Regions from separate parts of the Homo sapiens genome. Here all the other regions are linked to region 2. The links are contacts of gene promoters, found by promoter capture Hi-C in blood cells and fetal thymus (Javierre and others, 2016). All regions are on one chromosome and are shown on one strand. Each heading gives the region's core, a stretch centred on a gene start or on the middle of the fragment in contact. The rest is flanking DNA. Distances are from core to core; before and after follow the strand shown. Region 1 holds the start of M6PR (mannose-6-phosphate receptor, cation dependent). Region 2 has its middle 13 kb from the start of CLEC2D. Region 3 holds the start of KLRK1 (killer cell lectin like receptor K1).

The links. Contacts are between HindIII fragments. The CHiCAGO score rates a contact against its expected background, and 5 or more counts as called.
Region 1: the fragment with the promoter of M6PR here is called in contact with a fragment that was not itself captured in region 2 in 1 of 17 cell types (non-activated CD4 T cells); the score reaches 6.4 in non-activated CD4 T cells.
Region 3: a contact is called between the fragment with the promoter of KLRK1 here and a fragment that was not itself captured in region 2, in 1 of 17 cell types (naive CD8 T cells). The highest score is 7.3, in naive CD8 T cells.

What each region holds. Positions count from the first base shown.
Region 1 is chr12:8,948,056-8,951,045 of GRCh38, forward strand. M6PR (mannose-6-phosphate receptor, cation dependent) reads right to left here and starts at 1,590. Exons shown (of 7, transcript NM_002355.4): 1 at 1,433-1,590. It also overlaps a transcript of KLRG1 not described here. RefSeq lists enhancers at 854-1,759, 1,760-2,664, 2,163-2,292 and a silencer at 1,970-2,184. The HindIII fragment of the contact is 9,162 bases long and covers 1-2,066 here.
Region 2 is chr12:9,655,033-9,657,999 of GRCh38, forward strand. It overlaps the pseudogene LOC374443. Among named protein-coding and RNA genes, the nearest start is that of CLEC2D, 13 kb to the right of the region's middle. The HindIII fragment of the contact is 318 bases long and covers 1,364-1,681 here.
Region 3 is chr12:10,388,570-10,391,765 of GRCh38, forward strand. It overlaps KLRK1 (killer cell lectin like receptor K1), which reads right to left and starts at 1,472. Exons shown (of 8, transcript NM_007360.4): 1 at 1,374-1,472; 2 at 202-306. The coding sequence starts at 241. KLRC4-KLRK1 (KLRC4-KLRK1 readthrough) reads right to left here. Exons shown (of 13, transcript NM_001199805.1): 7 at 202-306. The coding sequence starts at 241. The region is part of intron 3 of KLRK1-AS1 (KLRK1 antisense RNA 1); the gene reads left to right. The HindIII fragment of the contact is 4,388 bases long and covers 1-3,196 here.

The DNA of each region.
Region 1 (2,990 bases), core at 340-2,839, 710 kb before region 2:
CCTAATTAAAAACTGACAGTTGATTTCTTTTCCTAAATTAGAACAAGGAATCTCACAAAATTAGGAAGGGATGAAAGGTTAAACACCTCAGCCATTAGCTGAGTTGAACTATCTTTCATTTGCTTATTATTCAAAAAGTTAGGATAATAAATTTATACTGTATTCTTCTTTCCTGCTTAAGGCTTGTCTTTAAATTTAAGCTGCTTCTCTTTAATTCAGTGGCATATGCGCTAAATGTTTTCCCTAGATTATGTTCATTCATCTTCACAACCCAGAAAATAGGTATAATTTTTCATACTTCACAGATGAGAAAACTGATGCTTTACAGAATTACTTGTTAAATTACTTGCTGTACATTACACAGATATTAAATGTGTGTGAAGTTACTGGGGCAATTTAGACGATTCGTGGCATAAAGATAACTGCTGGAAAACTTATAAACATAGGGGTGCAACAATCAGGAAGAGAATGAAATGGAAGGGCCCAGTAGCCCCCTTTTAATATGCTACAATTAGATTCTCAAGGTACAAGAGTTTGTCTATATACTTTGGAAATAAGGAGCAGGATTTTATGATCTTGAAAAATCTTTCAGTTTTCTTATTCTCTAACGACAGATCTATTTTATTTGGCAATGCTAAAAATTATCCTTTATTAGGGTGGCCAATGACTAAGCCAGCAACTGGGAAGCAGCTTACACCACTGGGCCTCTGTAGCACTCACTTCCCCATCTGTTAAGACAGCCATGGCCATTTACCAGTGGAATTTCTACTGTCTTCCCGCTGGCTCCTTTCTGATGTAGCAGTCCTTATCCCTTTTTCTCCAGCAGCCTACATGTTTAGAAAAGCAGCCTCAATTGGCTAAAAGGCCTAATGCTGAAAGAACTCAAGAGAGAAGGAGCCTCAGACAAGTAGCGGCTATGTCCCAAGAGCGGAAGCTCCCCACAACGAGGAACACAAGATAATCCGTCCATCAGCCATTCTTATCCACACCACAGTCGCATCCCCCTCAAAGCTCTCCCAGGGTGCCAGAAATTCTCGCTCTGTCTAGTGTCCCGACTTTCCAAGCGCTTGTAGCCATACCCTCTCCAAATGATGCCACTTGACCTCCCACCGTGATGCAGGCCAAAATTCCTCCTACAAATAAATCCACCAACACCTCCAACGGACTCCATACTTGGGGTATTTTCCTTTCCCTGCTTTCTAAATATCGTAAATCCCCTCTCTGGTCTTGGAAGTCCTTTCTCCCTCACACCTTTCGGAACTCCGTGACTCTCCGCTCTCATGCCTCCGCCTCCATTCTACCCTTAGGGCTCCTCAGCCAGATCTTTGGCTAGAACCATGGTCAAGGGAGAATGCGATTCCGGCTCCTGTCACAGACGCTTAAGTGTGAGCGCAACCCAGCCCGCCTCCTCCTCCACGCCCCTCACACTCACGTGTCGTGGGAAACTGGAGTAGCCAAAGCTCAGAATCCCCAGTGAATACCCTTCTGGGGATGGGAGACGGGGCCAGCTAGGGGCCGGCCGCAGACCCCGGTCCCAGAGCTAGTTTCAGAGGCCAGCGTTCCCCCTAGCGCCTCGCTGTGCCCCACTCTGGGAACCGGAAACAGGAAGCGCCAAGAGGCCGCTGGGCAACCGCTCCTCCCACCAGACCCCGCGGCATGTGACCATAGAACCATTTCGCCCCTTTCCCCTTCCCGGGCTCCCTGATAATCTTAAACTCTGATTGGCCAGTATTCTGGGACTTTAGCTCCGCCCTCGTTCCATCAGCTCCAATCACTATCGAGGTTGTCGTTTCGCCTTTTCTGGTTGCCTTTCTTTCAATGGGGTCCCAGAGTCCCGCTTCCAGGGCCTCTCGGCTCGCGCACCCCGGTCACGCGGGGTCACGCGCCTGACCGCTCCCGGGTAGGGTTCGAGTGAAGAGGGTGAGAGGGGCAGGTGGCGGAAGCGGAAGTTACGCAGGCAGCTCGCCCTCGGGCTCCGCGGGAGTTGTAGTTCTCACGCTAGGTCTCCTCCGGGCGCTTCCCTAGCCCGTTCGCCGCCTGAGAGGGACGCTGTTCCGCCGCGTGGAAGCTTCGAGTCTCGACTCCACTGTTGACCCCTAGACGAGAGTAGTGCAGCGACGGGGCCGTGATGTGCGTCCTGGCTTTCTTAACGACACCTCTCCTCTGTATTTCCTTTTTCCAGTTGAGTACCTTGGGGTGAATTATTATTGTTACTGTTATCTCTGTCGTTCCTTACTGCTTCGTGGTATTTTGCTTGATAAGCATGCTCTGCAACCACCTCTGTTCGCCAGAGGTTACTTCTGCAAAGTAGGAAGAAACGAGCAATACGATGGTAATCTTTGCGCCTTTGCTAAGATCTTTTGTAGGTTCCTTATGTCTTACTAGCCACTTGTTGAAGTCCTGCTCATTCTTAAACTCTGTTCAGATGTTATTTTTCCTGTAACTTCGTGCATTCACTCTCTTCAGAATTAACAATTTCTTCCTGTGGACCCTCGCTTGTGGCTTGTACCTGGCTTTAGCATGTTTTCATTCCGCTTCCACTCTTACGTTGCTTCTATGTGTGCCTCTCTGGCTCTATGCAGGTGCCTGGATTTTTGATTCTTACCCCTCTCATTAGAACTACTACAGTGTTTTGAGTCTAATAATAATAAAAGCTAACGGATGCATATCTCGGTGGTGCCCGGCACTTTTGTAAGTGCTTTAAACGATAGTTAATTCACTTGGTCTTCACACCAACCTTATGAGGAAGTATCTTATCCCAAGTTTACAGATGAGTAAATTAAAGCAGATAGAAGCTAAGTAACACCGTGGGTCCCAAGCTATTAAGTTATGGAGCCAGTATTTAAATAGTCTCCATAATCCATGCTCTCAAGCACTACGCTTTACCGACTGTATGCCATTCTGCATTTCTTTGTTTATTAGTAATACATTCAGTTCAGGCTAGGTAGTAATCATATCTGGGTTGGATGTTGCCCCAATAAAAAAAAAAA
Region 2 (2,967 bases), core at 273-2,772:
CAAAATTGACCTCAGGAAGGTAAGCAGAAAAATAGATAAAATGGGTGAGAAAATTTCTTTATTATGTTTCATTGTGATTGTCTCACTTTTAGCAAGAAAGGAAAAGCCAGTGGTAGAGTCATCTAAATACGCTGCTTGCCCAAAAAGCTGAATTAGATTTAGGAGTAAATGTTTTTATTTTTCTGAAGGCATAAGAAATTAGACATTGAGTCAAACGTTCTGTGTCTCATTAGAAGCCAGCCTTGCTCAGTTTGCAACTATGGAGGAACTGGTAAGAGATATTTTTGGATCATGTTTTCTGTTAAATACTTAGCCCCCTGAGGCAGGTCGGCTACATAGGGTTAAAGCTGAAATACTAAGAAGGATCCCATTCCAGGGGCATGAGATGTGTTTTCATGTCTAACATTTGTTGAGGGTGTGTTCTCTGCCTGGAACCCTGTGAGACATTTTAGATATATTTCCCCATGTAATGCTCATGGTGAGCTGGTAAGATGAGATGTATTGTTCTCATTCTATTAAGAAGTAAGGTAATTATATAATTTGTCATCTAGATTAAGACATATAGGGCATTAAAAGTGATCATTAATACATTGGTGGAATGACAAGCATAAACTGAGAATTTCCCAATGAAACTGGGATTTATGCTCACTTTAAATAAAGTAATTTAGGATCAGAGACGTTAAATGACTTAAACTGAGAACTGGGAATTAGTCTCACTCCAGAATTTATGCTGCTTAATTATACCACGCTGCCAGTGAAAAAGAGAAGGGATAGGGAAGAGAGACTCCAGAGTAATATGAAAGAAAGGGGCTCATGGTGTTAGTTTCTGTTTTATTATAGAATTTCCTGAAAAGATACAAAGGCCCTTCTGACCATTGGATTGGCCTTAGAAGAGAATCATCCCATCGCATTTGGAAATGGACAGACAACATGGAATATAATAACATGTATGTTTTGAGACTTCTCATCTTTTGCTGTGTTTATGTATGGTTATGTGTGTGAGTTGTGTTTATGAGATAAGAAATGTAGTATCATGGAAAACTTACTGCAATATGAGGTAAGAAATCTAAACCCTTTTTATGCTCTTCAGTTGGTTAGCTGTGTCTTTGGGAAAGCTTTACCTGTGATTTCAGTTGAAGTCTTTAATGTGACAGTGACATTTCTCACAATTTTACACTTTCATCCACTGATTTAAAACTGCTGAAATCCCTACTTATAGCTGATGTGCAACAAAGGTTCTACAATCATAGGAAGCCACTGAGGAGCTGATATCCACAAGGCTGTTAAGCCCACTCTTGCAGGTGTTGCATCCATTTACAATAGGAAAGCATCCAGGGAACTCATGGGAATCTCTCCCTCCTAAAGCTTTATCACCAGAAGGAAACTAGTAACAGTTCCTTGGACTGTGAACATTTCAAAGGGGTATTTTGAATATAATCATTACATTGCAGCAGATAAAATGTAGGAACCCAGTCATATCCATTAATCAAAGCTAAGCCCTTTCAGGAATTTACTAGTTTTTTTTTTTTTTTTAGTTTTCACACATTTACAAAACAATTTGGGAGGAGGCTGGAAATCATCTTGACTGAAGACCACCAATGGCAGCAGTTCATTTGGGTACAGCAGCAAGCATCAGTTAAATACCTATCAACATAGCTGGGCTTGGTATGGATGAATGATAAGCTTGTGATTTTCAAGCAAGGACCTTGAGGACATAAAGGACACTAAATACAGAAATGGTTTATATTACTATGAAGCAATATTAATGACAGACTTTTGCTTTTCTCTTATTCACATTGAAATATGGAGGGGTTGCAGAAGATGATGGGGAGGAACAAATGCAGGTGTCTAACTTACAAATATTTAATATTTTTGTGTTTGGATTTAGGCTTGCTATCAGAGGAAGTGGAGAATGTGCCTTCCTGAATGACAATGGAGTCAACAGTGGCAGAATCTACATGAACAGAAAATGGATTTGTAGCAAGCCAAACAATTATGTCTACAGTTGCCAGTTATGTCCCCACTGGGATACTACCTAGTAGAGCTGTGAGAAGAGGGCCACCATCCTCCAGACTCCAGAATGGTGGAATCAGCAGCAGCTTCCACCATGCCCCTGGAAAAACTGCAAGTAACAGACCTGCACATGTATCCCCTACATCTAAAATAAAAGTTGGAAAAAATGGAACTTTGATGTTAAGATGCACTGATACAAAACTTAAATTTTGGTCTCCTACATTAAAACAATATGAGTCTCTTAAAATATTGATTTGTTCTTAGTAAGATTACAAGAGGCTTTGATTTTTAATTCTGCAATGTTTCCTTAACAGCCATTCTGAATTACAAACTAATTCCTATTTCTGCCACATTCCTTCCTGAGAACTGTCTAGTCCTGGTTTGGGATTTATCTTAAAGGTCTAGAAAGGCAACATTTTACTTCAGCAAAACTTGATTCTATATTGTTGTTTTTTCTTAATGTGTCAAAATTGTTTTGTTACTAGGATTTCCTATGTTGTTATTAAATGTATTCCCCTGATCAAGGTCACTGGCCTAGAAAACAAAGATTCTGTGTTTTACCAAGATAATTCCCAGTGCTTCATGGTGTCTTTATTAGGCTTTGACTGCTTAGGGAAACTGAGCCTTAAAAGGGTAAAAGTTTTTCCATCCATGTAACTTTCTGAGGTCTTTAGGTTGTCACTCTGATTAAATGAGTAGTATTCTTAGCAGTGACTTATTATCTGTTGAAGGAAGTATTTTAAGCTTTTTGACATCTTTGGCAGGTTTCTCTAGAATCCAAATCCTAAATTAAGCCTTTTGGCCTAAAAATGACTGGGATTTTTCCAGGTGGACCCCCTAGATATGCTCCTCCAAAGGCTTGTCTTTCTTGTAGAGTTATTAAATGATTAGGCTTATTTGGCAAATACTGCTAGAAGCATTGTCAAATAAGAAATGGTGTTTTACCTTTCTTTA
Region 3 (3,196 bases), core at 222-2,721, 730 kb after region 2:
TAAAATAAAGGGAAAAAAGTTTTTAAGTTTTGGAAGACTTGATTTAAAATACAATATGAACATAACATGAAATCAACATAAATAGAACATGAAAAGAATCAGAGTAAATTGCTTGCCTATGCCTTATATGCTTGTATGAAATTCTTGGTATCTTAAAATTGTATAAAAACAAAACTACACACTTATGTGGTAAAAACATACCCCAGCTGTGTCGAGACCTCCGACCACGAATCCACCCCATCAAATACTTATAAGTGCACGTCTACCGCAGAGAGGAATCTAAAGTCTTCAATGCACAAAGGATTCCTGAATAAAATAAAACTGGGCATTTGTTTTTTGTTCTCTTTCCCGTGGTGAGATAAAATATTTTGAATAGAAAAGTAAAATGCAGAAACTTTTCCCCTGTGCATGCCTTTAAGAAAAGAATAGAAATGACAATTCACATAAAGCCAGGCAAAATTAATTTTATACATTTCTCTTGGTTGTAAAATAATCGCCAATTACTTCAAAATGTCATAACAATATAATGAACCTATTAATTCACCTACATTGAGATATTTAATACCAATATTTTACTTTACTGATATTAGATAACAACACACCCAGTTTTCTGTTTATAGTCGTTTATTGCTTCTTGGCCTTTTAGCTAAGATCAAGTGTTTCCAGTTGTTTATTTTATCTGGCAATAATTTAGTTTTCTTTCTGCAAGCTAAACTCAGGTAAGTTATATGCACTTTTGTTGAATGTCCTTTTCTAGTGCATTTTAATCCAACGTGCCCATATCATCATCATCAACAAATTATCATCACCATCATCATTAACAAAACTAATCTCACATGTTTATATAGTAACATCTTAGCAATGCACAGCAGAGCTTCCAGAAAAAACCATTTAATAAATAAGCATAGTGCTTAGATTTCAAAAATAAAAGCTATTTCATATTTGATTATGATAGTTGGAAAGCACAGATATAACTTGTTTCACCTTGCATGTAAAGATGTGTATCAAAGGTAAGTGCCCCCTACAGCATCAGAAAACTCAAAAATTTGACAATTTAAATTGAATCTCAATTCTTCTCATCCTAAATGTAAAGATTCATTTTTCTAGTTTTGCTTAGAGACAAGGCTTCTTCTTATAGTAATATTACAACTTCTGATTCTTCAATAAGTATATCCTAATTACCTATCATCAGATACAGTGATAGAATATACATCAGAAATGATAAGCATTCCGTATCCTCAGGAGTTCTATTCAAGCATCTAAGAAACAATTAGAATTACCTTATAGTGTAAATATTTTTATTTTTTTGAGGTTGAAATATAATTTCTCATATCTTGAATAATAAACACACACACATACACACATACACACACCTGCTCAGAGAGGGAAGATCTTGATTCTTGTGGATAAAAGCCTTCTATAAAACTAGAAAATTTAGATATGTCCTCAGTTCCTGATCTAGAATTGAAAGTGGAGATACTTAGTGAATTTCTATCTTTGAGAAAGATGTGACAAATATTATAATCTCATCTTCCTGTGGAAAAACATAAACCACAGTACTTCCGCCTTATCACTACAAAAATATTGTTAATTTGGTAAAAGAGTTAAGACCACCCATTGTTGGATAAATGTTAGGTTGGTGCAAAAGTAATTGTAGTTTTGCCATTATTTTAAATAACATTTTAGGATTTGAAAATGATGAATTTAAATGATGCCATTTAATCCTAAATATTTTAGAGATTCAATTCAATTCCAGTTAATACCTCAGGTTTTGTTGTAGAACTTACAAAGCAGAATTCTACATGTACATTAAATTACAAAAGTCAAGACTAGGAAAGTCACAATTGAAGATGAAGAAAATGTGGGAGCCTTGTTTTACTAGATAGTAAGACCTATGTTAAAACCGTATTAATAAAGGCAAAGTGGCATGTGGGGCATAGATAGACAAATTGAGAAGGGTAAAAATACAGACAAGAAAAAGTCATGTGCATAGATTAAAAAATATAAGGTAACATTGCAGATAAAGTGGGAAATTAGCTCCTATTCAATAATTTGTCCTGGGTTACTATCACACTGGCCTTTAAGTTACAAAAAATTAGTCCTGGGAATTTTTAAATTTTAATATAAAAAACATGAAATTGCATCTCTGTCATATCTACATCATATGCAGGAGAATTAGAAACTTAAATATATACCCCAGTATACATAAGAATAATATATGAATTGATACCAATGAACAAGATAAGCTAAATATATATTTTATGTTTATTAATTTAAAATACTAACATAAGACATCATATAAAGTAATATAAGATGAACACATTATAACATTTTAACAAAAACCAAAGCTATTAATCTTAAAACTCTGAAATATAAGGAAGGAAAACAGCTTTCATGTGGTGATGTGTTAAAGTTGGACAATAAATTTATTCAACATTTTTTTTCTTTAGCGAATGCTATTTGCTATGCACTTTTCTAGATCTTGAGAATGTCAAAGTAAACAATCCAAAAGAAAGTTTTTGCCCACATGGAAATTAATTACTTTTTTTTTTTTTTTTTTTAAGAGATGGAGTTTCACTCTTGTTGTCCAGGCTGGAGTGCAACGGGGCGATCTCGGCTCACTGCAACCTCCGCCACCTGGGTTCAAGCAATTCTCCTGTCTCAGCCTCCAGAATAACTGGGATTACAGGCATGTGCCACCACACCTGGCTAATTTTTGTATTTCTAGTAGAGACGAGGTTTCACCATGTTAGTCAGGCTGGTCTCGAACTCCTGACCTCAGGTGATCCTCCTGCCTCAGCCTCCCAATGTGCTGAGATTACAGACGTGAGCCACCACACCCAGCTGGAAATTACTTTTTAGTTTAGGTGATATAAAATGAATAAGTATAAAACAAATTCAAAATTAAACAAGATAGGTGAATATAAAACAAGTTGAAGAAAATATGTTATTTTCTGACATACCAAGATTCTTTTCAGCTAATCAACATTTTCTATTAGCTATTTTATATAGTAAAAATAGATCTATATAGAGGAAATATAGGCTGATATTTTCTAACAACTACATTTTAACAAATATTTGGTTTTTGAAAGGAAATGAATAAATGAGTAAATGCAGGCTTTTTATGGGAAAAACCTGAATCACAATTTCCTGAAGAGTTATTTTTATATATGTAGTTTTCGATTGAATAGAGATT